Linked DNA regions of Homo sapiens: regions 1 and 3 are each linked to region 2. Evidence: promoter capture Hi-C in 16 types of primary human blood cells and fetal thymus (Javierre and others, 2016). All regions are on one chromosome and are shown on one strand. Each heading gives the region's core, a stretch centred on a gene start or on the middle of the fragment in contact. The rest is flanking DNA. Distances are from core to core; before and after follow the strand shown. Region 1 has its middle 3.2 kb from the start of ZBTB8A. Region 2 holds the start of NHSL3 (NHS like 3). Region 3 has its middle 20 kb from the start of ZBTB8A.

Evidence for each region. The method cuts DNA at HindIII sites, captures the fragments that hold promoters and counts their contacts. A CHiCAGO score of 5 or more calls a contact.
Region 1: a fragment that was not itself captured here is called in contact with the fragment with the promoter of NHSL3 in region 2 in 1 of 17 cell types (M1 macrophages); the score reaches 5.3 in M1 macrophages.
Region 3: a contact is called between a fragment that was not itself captured here and the fragment with the promoter of NHSL3 in region 2, in 5 of 17 cell types (M0 macrophages, M2 macrophages, megakaryocytes and 2 more). The highest score is 8.4, in M0 macrophages.

What each region holds. Positions count from the first base shown.
Region 1 is chr1:32,534,064-32,538,463 of GRCh38, forward strand. No RefSeq gene overlaps it. Among named protein-coding and RNA genes, the nearest start is that of ZBTB8A, 3.2 kb to the right of the region's middle. The HindIII fragment of the contact is 4,105 bases long and covers 673-4,400 here.
Region 2 is chr1:32,740,579-32,744,781 of GRCh38, forward strand. It overlaps NHSL3 (NHS like 3), which reads left to right and starts at 1,252. Exons shown (of 7, transcript NM_020888.3): 1 at 1,252-1,611. The coding sequence starts at 1,377. The HindIII fragment of the contact is 20,286 bases long and covers 1-4,203 here.
Region 3 is chr1:32,517,142-32,521,485 of GRCh38, forward strand. No RefSeq gene overlaps it. Among named protein-coding and RNA genes, the nearest start is that of ZBTB8A, 20 kb to the right of the region's middle. RefSeq lists enhancers at 4,039-4,088, 4,139-4,258. The HindIII fragment of the contact is 798 bases long and covers 2,576-3,373 here.

The DNA.
Region 1 (4,400 bases), core at 1,475-3,974, 210 kb before region 2:
GAATTTTCCAAGCCAGAAAACTTTGGCTTCCTTTTGTCTAACAGTCCTTCCTTTAGCTTATCTCTCTCCTCTCACATTTTACTACAAGCAGCAAGGAGAAACCACCTGTTTCCTTCAACACTCTGGGGGGAAGCTTTATAGCTAGATCACCAAGTTCAACTTCCTTAGCTAGATCACCAAGTTCAAATATTTTCTACTTTTCACCTTATTGCAGACAACTGTGTTGCTTCCCCCCGACTCCCAACCAATACCTATCAAGGACTCCCTTTGCTTCAGATTTCCATAAGATTTGTAGATTTTTCTGTAAGCCCTCACTTGCATCTTCCTCAAAGACCATTAGAAGTTGTCTTTTTTTTTTTTAAACGGAGTCTCACTCTGTCACCAAGGCTGGAGTGCAATGGCGCAATCTCAGCTCCCTGCAACCTCTGCCTCCTGGGTTCAAGTGATTCTCCGGCCTCAGCCTCCCAAGTACCTGGGATTACAGGCATCTGCCACCATGCCCGGCTAATTTTTGTATTTTTGGTAGAGATGGGGTTTCACCATGTTGGCCAGGCCGGTCTGGAACTCCTGACCTCGAGTGATCCACCCACCTTGGCCTCCCAAAGTGCTGGGATTACAGGCATGAGCCACTGCACCCGGTATAAGTTGTCTATTTTTTTAGAAGATTCTTCAAGCTTTCACTAACACCTCAAAGCCCTTCCACCCACTGTCTAGTTCTAAAGTCACATTTTCAGGTTTCTGTTATGGCAACACTTCTAGGTACCACAATCTGTATAAGTGATCTATTGCTGTATAATAAATTACTGGCCCGGCTTGGTGGCTCACACCTGTAATCCCAGCACTTCAGGAGGCTGGGGTGGGAGGATCGTTTGAGCCCAGGAGTTTGGGACAAGCCTGGGCAACATAGGGAGATCCCCATCTCTACATAAAATTAAAAAATTAGGCATTGTGGTGTGCACCTGTAGTCCCAGCTACTTGGGAGGCTGAGGCAAGAAGATTGCTTGAGCCTAGGAGGTCAAGGCTGCGGTGAGCCGTGTTCATGCCATTGCACTCCAGCCTGAGCGACAGCTATCTCAAACAAACAAACAAAAATTCTTTTACACATATCCCCTTCTAGCTACCACCATCTCTCTTTGCCTGTAATAATTCTAAAACATGACCCCAAATTCTGTGACATTCTTTCCATTAGAGATAGCAACTATGTCCCCCTTCTGCTTGAATCTTAGTAGGCTGGGACAACTTCCATAGATAGGCAGAAAAAGTCATGCAGCTCCCTCCTACCTGTCTTGGACACACTCTGTCAGAACCCAGCTGCCATGATGCAGGAAGCCCCAGCCCCACAGAGAGGTCATGGGTAGGTGCTCTAGATGACAAATCTCAGCTGAGCCAACCTTCAAGTGATCCCAGCCCAGGTGCCAAACCTTTAAGCGAAGAAACCTGCAGATGATTCCAGTTCCCAGTAGTTCAAGTTACCCCCAGTCATTTAAGTCTTCCCAGCTAAGGCTCCAGACAACAGGAAAAAAAAAAACAAGCCACCCCTGCTGTGACCTGACCCACAGAATCCAGGAGCATAATAAAATAGCTTCAGTTTTCTACTACTAAGTAAGTTTGGTTTGGTTTATTACACAGTAAAAATAACTGGAACATCCCCTTTATAAACCAGTTTCTGAGAGGAATTGTCTGTTCTCATCATCTCTATTCCTTCATCCTCCACTTATTCCTCTAATCTGGAAATCCACCCCATCTTTTAAGCCTAATCATGTTCTCTAAAGTCAATGATCTCCAACTTGTTAAATGTAATGGACATTTTCTTTTAGATTTGTTCTCTTAGCAATATTTAGCACTACTGCCCAATTCTTCCTTTTTTCCTTATTTTTATAGCTGGGTTCTCGCTCTGTCACCCAGGCTGGAGTAGTAGTGATGCCATCATGGCTCACTGCAGCCTAAAGCTCTTGGACTCAAGCGATCTTCCCACCTCAGCCTCCTAAGTAGCTAAGCCTACAGGCACAAACAACCAAGCCCAGCTAATTTATTTTATTTTTTTTGTAGAGATCGGGTCTCATTATGTTGCCCAGGCTAGTCTGGAACTCCTGGCCTTAAGCCAACCTCCTGCCTCAGCCTCCCAAAGTGCTGGCATTACAGGTATGAGCCGCTGTGTCTGGACTCTTCTTTTAGTTTTTATGCCATCACATTATCCCAGGTCTCTTCCTTCCTCTCCAGTCTTCTCACACTCATTTGCAATTTCAGCTTCCTCTAACCACCCACTAGATGAGGAAGTAGCTCAATGTTTGGTCCTAAGCCTTCTTTGCTTCTCATTTTATATTCTCTCTCTATGCATATCCATGGTTTTAATTCCCATCCCACCTATATGACTTTGATGATGAAATTTCTTTTTTCTTTTCTTTTTTTTTTTTTTTTCAGACGGAGTCTCACTCTGTTGCCCAGGCCGGAGTACAGTGGCATGATCTCAGCTCTCTGCAACCTCCACCTCCTGGGTTCAAGTAGGAATTTTTTTTTAATTTAAAAATTTTAAAAATCCTGCCCTTCTAGTCCTCTCTCTCTCAGTGAACAGAACCACCATCTGTCCAGTTCCAAAAGGCTGGGAGTTGTCTTTGACTCCTCCTTCTCCCTCATTTCTCAGAGTCAAACTATTATCTCTAATATTTAACTCTCCACCTCACTTGATCTCCCCACTTCTATCTACCTCCACTCTAGTTCAAGATTCTACCATCTCTTAGCTGGGCCACTGTGATCCACTCTTCCTTCCCTCTAATTTATCTTCCACAGTCATCTTTTCAAAATGCTTACCTCATCATAGCACACACACCCCATGCAGCTTAAAACACATTAATGGCTCCCAAAGTTCTTAACCTGGCCCGACAAGGCCCTGATGGTCTGACCCCTGCCTCCCTCTCCCATCTTATCTCTTGTCTCTCTCCCTCACGTTGCACTCCAGTCTCATCAGCCTTTCAGGCTATATTCCCATCTACCAAGCACCATTTTGCTCCTTCTATCTGGAATGCTCCTGACCACTCACACGCTTGCCTGTTAATTCCTACTCCAGATTTCCAGTCAAGATAACCTCCTCAAGGAAGTCCTCCTTACACAAACCCTCTCCCTCATGAGACGGGTCCCCACTTCATCAATATTCTCATCACACGACATACCTTTCCTTCAGACTTATCCAATTTTCAAATTATACATTTATTTGATTACCATCTGTCTCCCCCACTAGACTGCAAATCCCATAAAAGCAGGGACTTGGTGAATTTTTTGCTCACCACTGCATTCCAAGAGCCTAGAGCAAAAACTTTACCCTTAGCAGGCACTGTTAAAATTGGAATGGGACCAGGTGCGGTAGCTCATGCCTGTAATCCCAGCACTTTGGGAGGCCAATGAGGCTGGATCACGAAGTCAGGAGTTCAAGACCAGCCTGGCAACCTGGTGAAACCCTGTCCCTACTAAAAATACAAAAATTAGCCAGGCGTGGTGGCGGGCACCTGTAATCCCAGCTACTCTGGAGGCTGAGGCAGAGAATTGCTTGAACCTGGGAGGCGGAGGTTGCAGTGAGCCGAGATTGCATCATTGCACTCCAGCCTGGGTGACAGAGCAAGACTCCGTCTCCAAAAAAAAAAAAAAAAAAAAAAAAAAAAAGGAATGGATTATCTTCCTCAAGATTTGAACTGAATAGGTGGAAACAGGGATGGGGGTTGGGTGGGGTGGGAGACAGAGTTTAAGAGACTAGCACTGGTTAATGGTGGAGCTCTAGCATACAGAAACGTGCTCCCAAAGCTAGGAGAATGAAGGTGAGGGACAAAACTCTCATTACCTCTTCCTTGCAACAAAGAGGTTATTTTTGTTTGTTGTTTTTGTTTTTGTTTTTGAAATGGAGTCTTGCTCCGTCACCCAGGCTGGAGTGCAGTGGCACGATCTTGGCTCACTGCAAACTCCACCTCCTGTGTTCAAGCCATTCTCCTGGTTCAGCTGCCCCAGTAGCTGGGATTACAGGCGCGCACCACCATGCCCAGCTAATTTTTGTATTTTAAGTAGAGATGGGGTTTCACCATGTTGGCCAGGCTGGTCTCAACCTCCTGACCTCGTGATCCGCCCACCTCGGCCTCCCAAAGTGCTGAGATTATAGGTGTGAGCCACCACACCCGGCCTCAACAAAGAGTTTATCACCAACCTGATGTGCTCTCTTGAGGAATATGTTTGTGGAACTCTTTTGCATGTTTTAATTAACTAAGGCTAAAATAAAACCTTTGGCTAAAACCATGTCCAGGTCTTTCTGGGGGAATTCTCAATGGGGGCGCTAGCAGAGTAATCTGAGTACATCCAACACACCAGACACCTAATGGTTTTCAAATATGTTTCTACTTACCTGTTCAGAAGGTGAGGAA
Region 2 (4,203 bases), core at 2-2,501:
GAGTGCTATCTACAGTGCGCCGGGGCTGACTGGGCTGGGTGGCCCAGACAAATGGGCCCCTGCCCTCGTGGAGACCAGGACCAAGAGAAAGCCGTGTGACCAGAGTCAGATTGGGTGATTCTGGCCACCCCACTGGTATGGACATCACAAGGCCCTTCTGGGGACTGACGGAGGAGGTTCAAGGGTGCTGAACCCACAGCTGGTCCCCAGCGCAATTTCTAGTCCTTAGGGTTTGAAGCCTTGGACCAGCCTGAGACAAAACCCAGATGACCATCTTGGCTCCTCTCCCGCTGACCACCTCTGTCCCCTTCTGGCCTCCATTTCCGTTGTCGTGGGATCAGATGATATAAAAGGGCTTGGTCAGCTGTAATAGACCCAGAGGCCTGTAGGCAATGAGTACAGCAATTTCAGGATTCTTAATGTTTCCTTTCCTACCAGCCTCCCAGTCACACCTCTCACCTGCCCAGAGTTCAACCCTAATTAGTGTTGAGCATCTCAGTGGGAACTCCTGGTCCAGGCAGGAGTGCCCTGGGGCCTCAAATCCTAGTCCAAGGGTAAACGGAGGAAGGGCTATCCTCATCTTGCCACCAAAGGGTGAGGCAGGAACACAGTGGACCTGGGCCCCCGCTGCACACCGAAGATGGTTGGAGCCTGGAAGGTGTGGTAAAGAGCGAGGAGGCGACCCCAGTCAGCAGATGGGAGGGAAATGCCCACTGCGGGTCACAGGTCTTGGACGTGTCTGAAGCCTCTATTCCTGGCGCAAGCGCCCCAACACTGTCGGGGCTTGGAAGGAATTCTCCAAATTCCCTTATTCCAGGAAAAAATATTCCAGAATCCCCTGTCTATTCCCAGCCCAAACTTGGGATACCAAGTCTCCTGGGGTCCAACCCCAGCCTCTCGCTCCTCCTTTCCTGCGCCCTTCCCCTTTCCGTCCCCACCCCATACCACCCTCTTCCGAACAGATCTCCCGCGGTGCCCCCTGCGGGACGGAACCTCAGTGCCGCCCCCTCCCGGGCGGCCCCACGACCCGCCCTCTCGGGCCCCAGCGGGGGGCACGACCCCGGGCTCCCGGGACCCCCTCCTCTCGGGACTGGACCTCGCCCTCCGCCGGGACCGGGGGAGGCGGGGAGGGGCCGCAGGCAGCGGCGCTCCCGCCCTGCGGCCGCTCCCGCCCCGCTCCTTCCCTCCCCGCCGGCCTGCGCCCCGCCCGCCGCTCGGCCGGCCCCTCCCGCGCCGCTCCCGCCGTCCGCTCTCCGCGCCCGCTCGGCCTCCGCCGCCCAAACTTTTCTCCGGGCGCGCGTCCCCGGCGGCCGCCCCCGGCATGGGCACCGCGCCGCAGGGGGCCTGACCCGCCGCCCGCTCCGCCCCCGCCTGCCATGGCGGCCCGCGCGCCCCCCGCCGCACCTGCGGCCGAGGAGCCGGGGAACCCGGGCGGCCCCCCGCGCAGGAAGAAGTCCCGCTCCGGCGCGTCCGGCCTCCGCCGCGCCTTCAGCTGGCTGCGGGGCAAGCGGCGCAAGAAGAAGGCGGCGGGGGCCGAGGGCGCCGAACCGGCCGCCCCCCGGGCCAAGAAGGCGGAGGACAAGGCCAAGAGGGCCAAGGGCAAAGGCCGAGGTAAGGCGGTCGGCACCTGGGCTGAGCGCGGGGGGGCGTCGAGGGTGCGGCCGAGGGGGCTCTGCCGGGGGTCCGCGCGCGGCGTGTTGGAGGGGGGTGACCCCCAGGAGCTGGTGCTGGAAAGCGAAGAGGCCAGGGCTGAGTCCGAACACTTCCACCCTGCGCTGCCTTCCGCAGTTTCCAGACCCAGTCCTGCCCCGCTGTGAGGGGAGGGGACCCCCGGCTGGGGCAGGGATCCCCTGGCAGAGCAGGAAGTGCTGGTAGCCCGACTCCAGGGCGGTGAGGCGATTCCCCCTCCCCCAGGCTCACCGAGGTTCTGCCCTCTGCTGAGTCAGGGGGTCAGAGACTTAACGCTGGCCTGTGGCCAATGGGAGAGACAGGTGGCCTTGGGTCTCTGGTGGGGACCCTCTGGGTCTGGAAGGTCAACCGCACTCACAAAGAGTTTCAGCTCCAGCTGGATCTGGATTTCCAGCCCCACAAAGGACCTCACATGGAGCACAGTGTGCCCTGCCTTAGCTTCTTAACAGTGCTGGCTTTTCCCACCTGGCCTCCCTCAACGCTCACCTGGGCCAGGCCACAAACATCACCTCCTGGGGTAGTGAGCTCACCAAGGTGAACCAACCCGCCCCTCCCTATCACTCCTTCTTCCAGCCCTGGAGAAACATGCCAGTGTCGGAAGTGTGCTTACAGATGGGGGAAACTGAGGCCCAAGCTCAGTGGAGAGGCTGTACCTGGGCTGGGGTGGGTACTTAAAATTCAACAGCTAATTCTCAGTCTTTCTGAATTTGAGTCCCTGGGCTCCTCCTCTGGCCTGGACGGGCAGCCTGAAAGGCGGGGAAGCCGACCTGGCCCATCCCTGCTGGGGTCATTTTCAGTTCCTTTCTTGGGCCTTCCCTCATTTTCCAGTTTCTGTCTTCCTTTTGATGGGGAGGGCTTGAGTCTTTGCAAGAGGGTGGAGCTCCCTTGGGGCTTGCTGTCCTGGGAAGTCCACCTTTCCTAGACTGCTGCTGCAGTGCTGGAGGTGAGGAAATGGCTGGGTGTGCGGGCCCATCCCATTCTGCCTGTGTTTACCCTCCCAGTGTCCTTTAACCACCTCTTCTGGGAGAGTTAGAAGGAACACTTTAGGGGTCAGGAAGAGGGTGGAAAGCCTCATGTGTGATTGTATCCGGCTTGATCTTCCTTTTGGATAAGGGCCCTGCTTCCCTGCGGCACAGCCACACATAGAAGTGAGGGTGCTGGGGCTGGGGTGACTGGGCCAAACCCTGAGGGAGGACTGGATTTGGGTGAGGGGTGTTTCCAAAGCCTCTGCAGTCCTAACAGGACATGGAGTCTGTCCCAGGGCTGCCCCACTGGGATTCAGTCTGAAGTCATCCCCGTCTCATTCAAGAGGGCATTGCAGCAGGATGTATTGTGGTCAGACTGTCAGGATTGGCAGGCAGAAGGCTAGTGGACTAGCAGTGTATACTCCAGGGCAATGGACCTTTTTCCTCTGGGAGACCAGCCTGGAAGGCAGGGGGCTGGAAAAGCTGAGCCTGTAGGTCACTGCTCCAACAGCCTGGGTTTGGGTTCATTGGGTCAGTGGCCAGGCCTCCCTCTTGCCTTGTGTTTGGTATCAGGTGGCTCTGGGCTTTCTGGGCAGCATGTCGGCCTGATTTGAGCCCACGTGCATGGGTAACACCTCCTTGCCCCTGGCTGTTGTTTCTCCAGGTCTGGAGGTGGCCCTGGGTATGACTGGAGGAAGTCCTGTTCCCTTTTACTCCAGCCTCCTATTATTGCAACTGTTTCCTTGTCACCTGCCTGGCCCAACTTCTTTTCTGTTTATTAAGAGAAATAAATCTGATCCCACTAATCTCCACTGGCAACGCTGGCCAGGAACGGGAAGCCTGCAGAAGGCTTAACTCTTTCAGGGAGAATGTTCAGAATGGAGATTGGGAGAGGTGGGGAGGAGGGATACACAGGAGATTCCTGGGAGGTCAGGGATCTTTGCTGGGGAAGTCATTATCTCCTCCATTCCAATCTCTGGCTCAAAGACCTATGAGAGGCAGGTCTTGATTCCTCTAATCTGACTCTCCTACTTTAAGATGGAAAAACTGAGCTTGTCATGGAGTTTTGAGCACCAGTCTTCCATGATTCCCTTGCTGACCTCACTACCCTGCACAAACTTAGAAGAAGAGAGGAAGTCTGACATTTATTGATTAGTCTGAATATGTCAAGATCTTACTTGCAGATGAAAAAATTGAGGCTCAGGGACAGTGAGTGACTGATTTGACCAAACGGATTTAAACTCAAATCACCTGCCTCAAAAATCGGGACTGTTTTCATGACTCTCCCAAGGACATAGAGCAGCAGGTAAGGCTTGAAGATCTTCTTGTTCAACTCACTTTACAGATGGGAAATGGCCCAGAGAGAGAAGTGAGGGAACTTGATAGAGTGGGGAGAGTATCAGAATCAGGCCAATGAGAGTTTAAATCCTGGCCCAGCTACTAGCAAGCCCCATGATGTAGGATGAGCAACTTCTCAGTGGGCTCCCTGATTCCACCACTGTCTTGTGGGGAAGAAAGGGGGAATCCTCTGGCTGGACATTGCCTTGAT
Region 3 (4,344 bases), core at 1,725-4,224, 220 kb before region 2:
TGGTATTTCTGTATTGAAACATAGAAAAGGTACAGTAAAAATGTAGTATTGGCTGGGCGTGGTGGTTCACGCCTGTAATCCCAGAACTTTGGGAGGCTGAGGTATGTGGATCACCTGAGGTCAGGAGTTTGAGACCAGCCTGGCTAACATGGTGAAACCCAATCTCTACTAAAAATACAAAAATTAGCCGGGCGTGGTGGTGCGAGCCTGTAATTCCAGCTACTCGGGAGGCTGAGGCAGGAGAATGGCTTGGACCCAGCGGGGCAGAGGTTGCAGTGAGCAGAGACTGTGCCATTGCACTCCAGCCTGGGAAACAAGACAGAAACTCCGTCCCCCCACCACCCCCCCAAAAAAAGTATCAAAAATTAACAAAAGGTACACCTATAATGGTCCACCTAATGGCACTTACTATATAAATGGAGCTTGCAGGACTGGAAGTTGCTCTAGAAGGGCCAGTGAGTGAGTGGTAACTGAATATGAAGGCCTAGGACATTACTGTAGACTTTATAAACACGGTACACTTAGGCTAAATGTATTTATTTATTTTGAGACAGAGTCTCATTCTGTCACCCAGGACGGAGTACAGTGGCACGATCTCAGCTCACTGCAACCTCCGCCTCTGGCTTCCAACAATTCTGCCTCAGCCTCCTGGGTGGCTGGGATTACAGGCACGCGCTACCATGCCCAGCTAATTTTTGTATTTTTAGTAGAGACAGGGTTTCACCATGTTGGCCAGGCTGGTCTCAAACTCCTGACCTCAGGTGATCTGCCCACCTCGGCCTCCCAAAGTGCTAAGATTACAGGCCTGAGCCACCGCGCCCAGCTGGCTAAATTTATTTTTAAAAATTTCTTTCTTCAATAGTGAATTAACTTTAGCTTGCTCTAACATTTTTACTTTATACACTTTTTAATTTTTAAAAAACTTTTACGGCCGGGCGCGGTGGCTCACGCCTGTAAACCCAGCCCTTTGGGAGGCCGAGGCGGGTGGATCACGAGGTCAGGAGATCGAGACTATCCTAACACAGTGAACCCCCGTCTCTACCAAAAATACAAAAAATTAGCCGGACGTAGTGGCGGGTGCCTGTAGTTCCAGCTACTCGGGAGGCGAGGCAGGAGATGGCGGGAACCCGGGCGGCGGAGCTTGCAGTGAGCCGAGATCGCGCCACTGCACTCCAGCCTGGGCGACAGAGTGAGACTCCGTCTCAAAAAAAAAACAAAAAACAAAAAACTTCTTAGGCCAGGTGTGGTGACTCAAGCCCGTAATTCCAACACTTTGGGAGGCTGAGGCCGGAGAATTGCATGAGCCTGGAAGTTAAGACCAGCCTAAACAACTTAGTGAGATCCCATCTCTACAAAAAATAAAAAATAAGCTGGGCATGGTAGCGCCCATAGTCCCAGCTACTCTGGAGGCTGAGTGGGGAGGATCACTTAGGCCTGGGAGTTTGAGGCTGCAGTGAGCCATGATCAAGCTACTGCATTCCAGCCTGAGTGACAGAGGGAGACCTTGTCTCAAAATAAAAAACAAAAACCAAAAAAACCCACTTGACTCTTTTGTAATAACACTTAGCTTAAAACACACATTCTACAGCGGTACAAAAATATTTTCTTTCTTTATATCCTTATTCTATAAGCATTTTCCTATTTAAAAAATTTTTTTGAAACACCATGACTGGCTAATTTTTGGGCTTTTTGTAGAGACAGGGTTTTGCCATGTTGCCCAGGCTGGTCTTGAACTCCTGAGCTGAAGCAGTTTGCCCACCTCATCCTCTCAAAGTCGCTGGGATTACAGGCGTGAGCCACCTCACCCGGCTAATTTTACTTTTTAAACTTTTTTTGTGAAAAATTAAGACACACACACACCAACACACACACACACTAGACTAGACTAGGCCTACACAAGGTCAGGATTACCAATATCACTGTTTTCTATCTATATATCTTGTCCCACTGGAAGGTCTTCAGGGGCAATAACACGCGTGGAGCTGTCATCTCCTATGATCATGGTATCTTCTTCTGGAATACCGCCTGAAGGACCTGCCTGAGGCTGTTTTACAGAAAACTTTTAAAAATATAACTAGAAGGAGTACATTCCAAAATAATGATGAAAAGTATAGTATTTAAACACACAAACCAGTAACTTTTTTTTTTTTTGAGATGGAGTCTCGCTCTGTTGCCCAGGCTAGAGTGCAGTGGCATGATCTCAGCTCACTGCAGCTTCTGTCTCCCAGGTTAAAGTGATTCTCCTGCCTCAGCCTCCCGAGTAGCTGGGATTATAGGCGCGCGCCACCATGCCCAGCTAATTTTGTATTTTTTGTAGAGATGGGGTTTCACCATGTTGGCCAGGATGGTCTTGAACTCCTGACCTCGTGATCCTTCCACCTCAGCCTCCCAAAGTGTTGGGATTACAGGGGTGAGCCACTGTGCCCAGCCCATAGTCATTTATTATCAAGTATTCTGCACTGTACATAATTATGTGTTCTAGAATTTTGTATGACTGTTAGCACAGATTTGTTTACACCAGTGTCACCGCAGTGCTAGGATGCTACCGCAGCTACAACATCACTAAGCAATAGGAAGCTTTCGGCTCCATTATATTCTTAAGAGACCACTGTTGTATATGCAGTCTATTGTTGACCAAAATGTGGTGCATGACTGCAGTTATTGTTAGATGATGTGTTTTGAAGTGTGGTATGGGAACTATAGTCACTGGAATAATAAACATATAAAGTATAAGTTTCTAATTCTGAGATGAGTAAGATGAGGGTAAGATCATTACATTTGTTAAAGAGCTGGTACAAATTCACAGGTATCTGTTCCAGCTTCTTGTTTCCTCTTTGCTTTTTTTTTTTTTTTTTTGAGAGGGTCTCACTCTGTCGCCCAGGCTGGAGTGCAATGCCATGATCTTGGCTCACTGCAACCTCTGTCTCCCAGGCTCAAGTAGTACTCCCGAGTAGCTGGGACCACAGGTGCGTACCACCACGCCTGGTTAATTTTTTGTATTTTTTGTAGAGATAGGGTTTTGCCATGTTGGTCAGGCTGGTTTCAAACTCCTGAGCTCAAGCGATCTCCTGCCTTGGCCTCCCAAAGGGCTGAGATTACAAGCGCAAGCCATCGCACCAGGCCCCTCCTCTTTGCTTTCTATTAGTCTTTTATCTCCCTGGTCACCAGCGGTTTGTCCAACCGCCTATTTTCCCCTTTTCTTCCAATGAAGAGTCCCACATCTTTCTTTATTAAATTTAAATATTTTTCTCACTTGAATATCTCAGATAACCGATGATCCTCCTAGTTAGTTACAGTTTTGGTGATGAAGACATTCATTTATTCCTCAAATGTATGCAAATTATCAATTTATCATCACTTAACTTCAAACTTAAGCTTTTTTTGCCCTGCTTTGTGCAACCAGCTGGACTCTATAAACATTTCTTCTTTCCCAGCTAGAGCAATGTTAGGCCCTGTCAATAGAGGGCGCCAGAGGGACACTGCAATAGCAGAGGCAGGGGCTTAGTGATTTCAGTGTAATTTTTTTTTTTTTTTTTTTTTAAAGACGGAGTCTCGCTCTGTCGCCCAGGCTCGAGCGCAGTGGCGCGATCTCGGCTCACTGCAAGCTCCGCCTCCCGGGTTCACGCCATTCTCCTGCCTCAACCTCCCAAGTAGCTGGGACTACAGCTCTCACGCCAACACGCCAGGCTAATTTTTTGTATTTTTTAGTAGAGACGGGGTTTCACCGTGTTAGCCAGGATGGTCTCGATTTCCTGACATGTGATCCGCCCACCTCGGCCTCCCACAGTGCTGGGATTACAGGCGTGAGCCACTGCGCCAGGCCAAGTTTTTTTTTGTTTTTTTGTTTTTGAGACAGAGTTTCACTCTCGTTGCCTAGGCTGGAGTGCAATAGCGTGGTCTCAGCTCACTGCAACCTCTGCCTCCGGGGTTCAAGCAATTCTTCTGTCTCAGCCCGCCACCATGCCTGGCTAATTTTTGTATTTTTAGTACAGGCGGGGTTTCACCACGTTGGCCAGGCTGGTCTCGAACTCCTGACCTCAGGCAATCCACCCGCCTCAGCCTCCCAAAGTGCGAGGATTACAGGCTTGAGCCACCGTGCCCGGCTTCAGTGCAACTTTCTTCTTCATCCTACAGTACAGCTCCATGGGGAATGGTGCCCACCCTGCAGTGAGTTTGCTGGCACCCTGGTGGGTGGCCACAGATCTTCCAGCCCACACCTGTGGCACCTCAATGAACTTCACCATCCAGCAGGCGGCAGACATATCCTCTCTGAAGAGGTCTAAATCCCAGTCTTTGGTGGGGCATGGGAAAGGAAGTCCTCTTGCAAGTTTCTTCTTTCCTTGA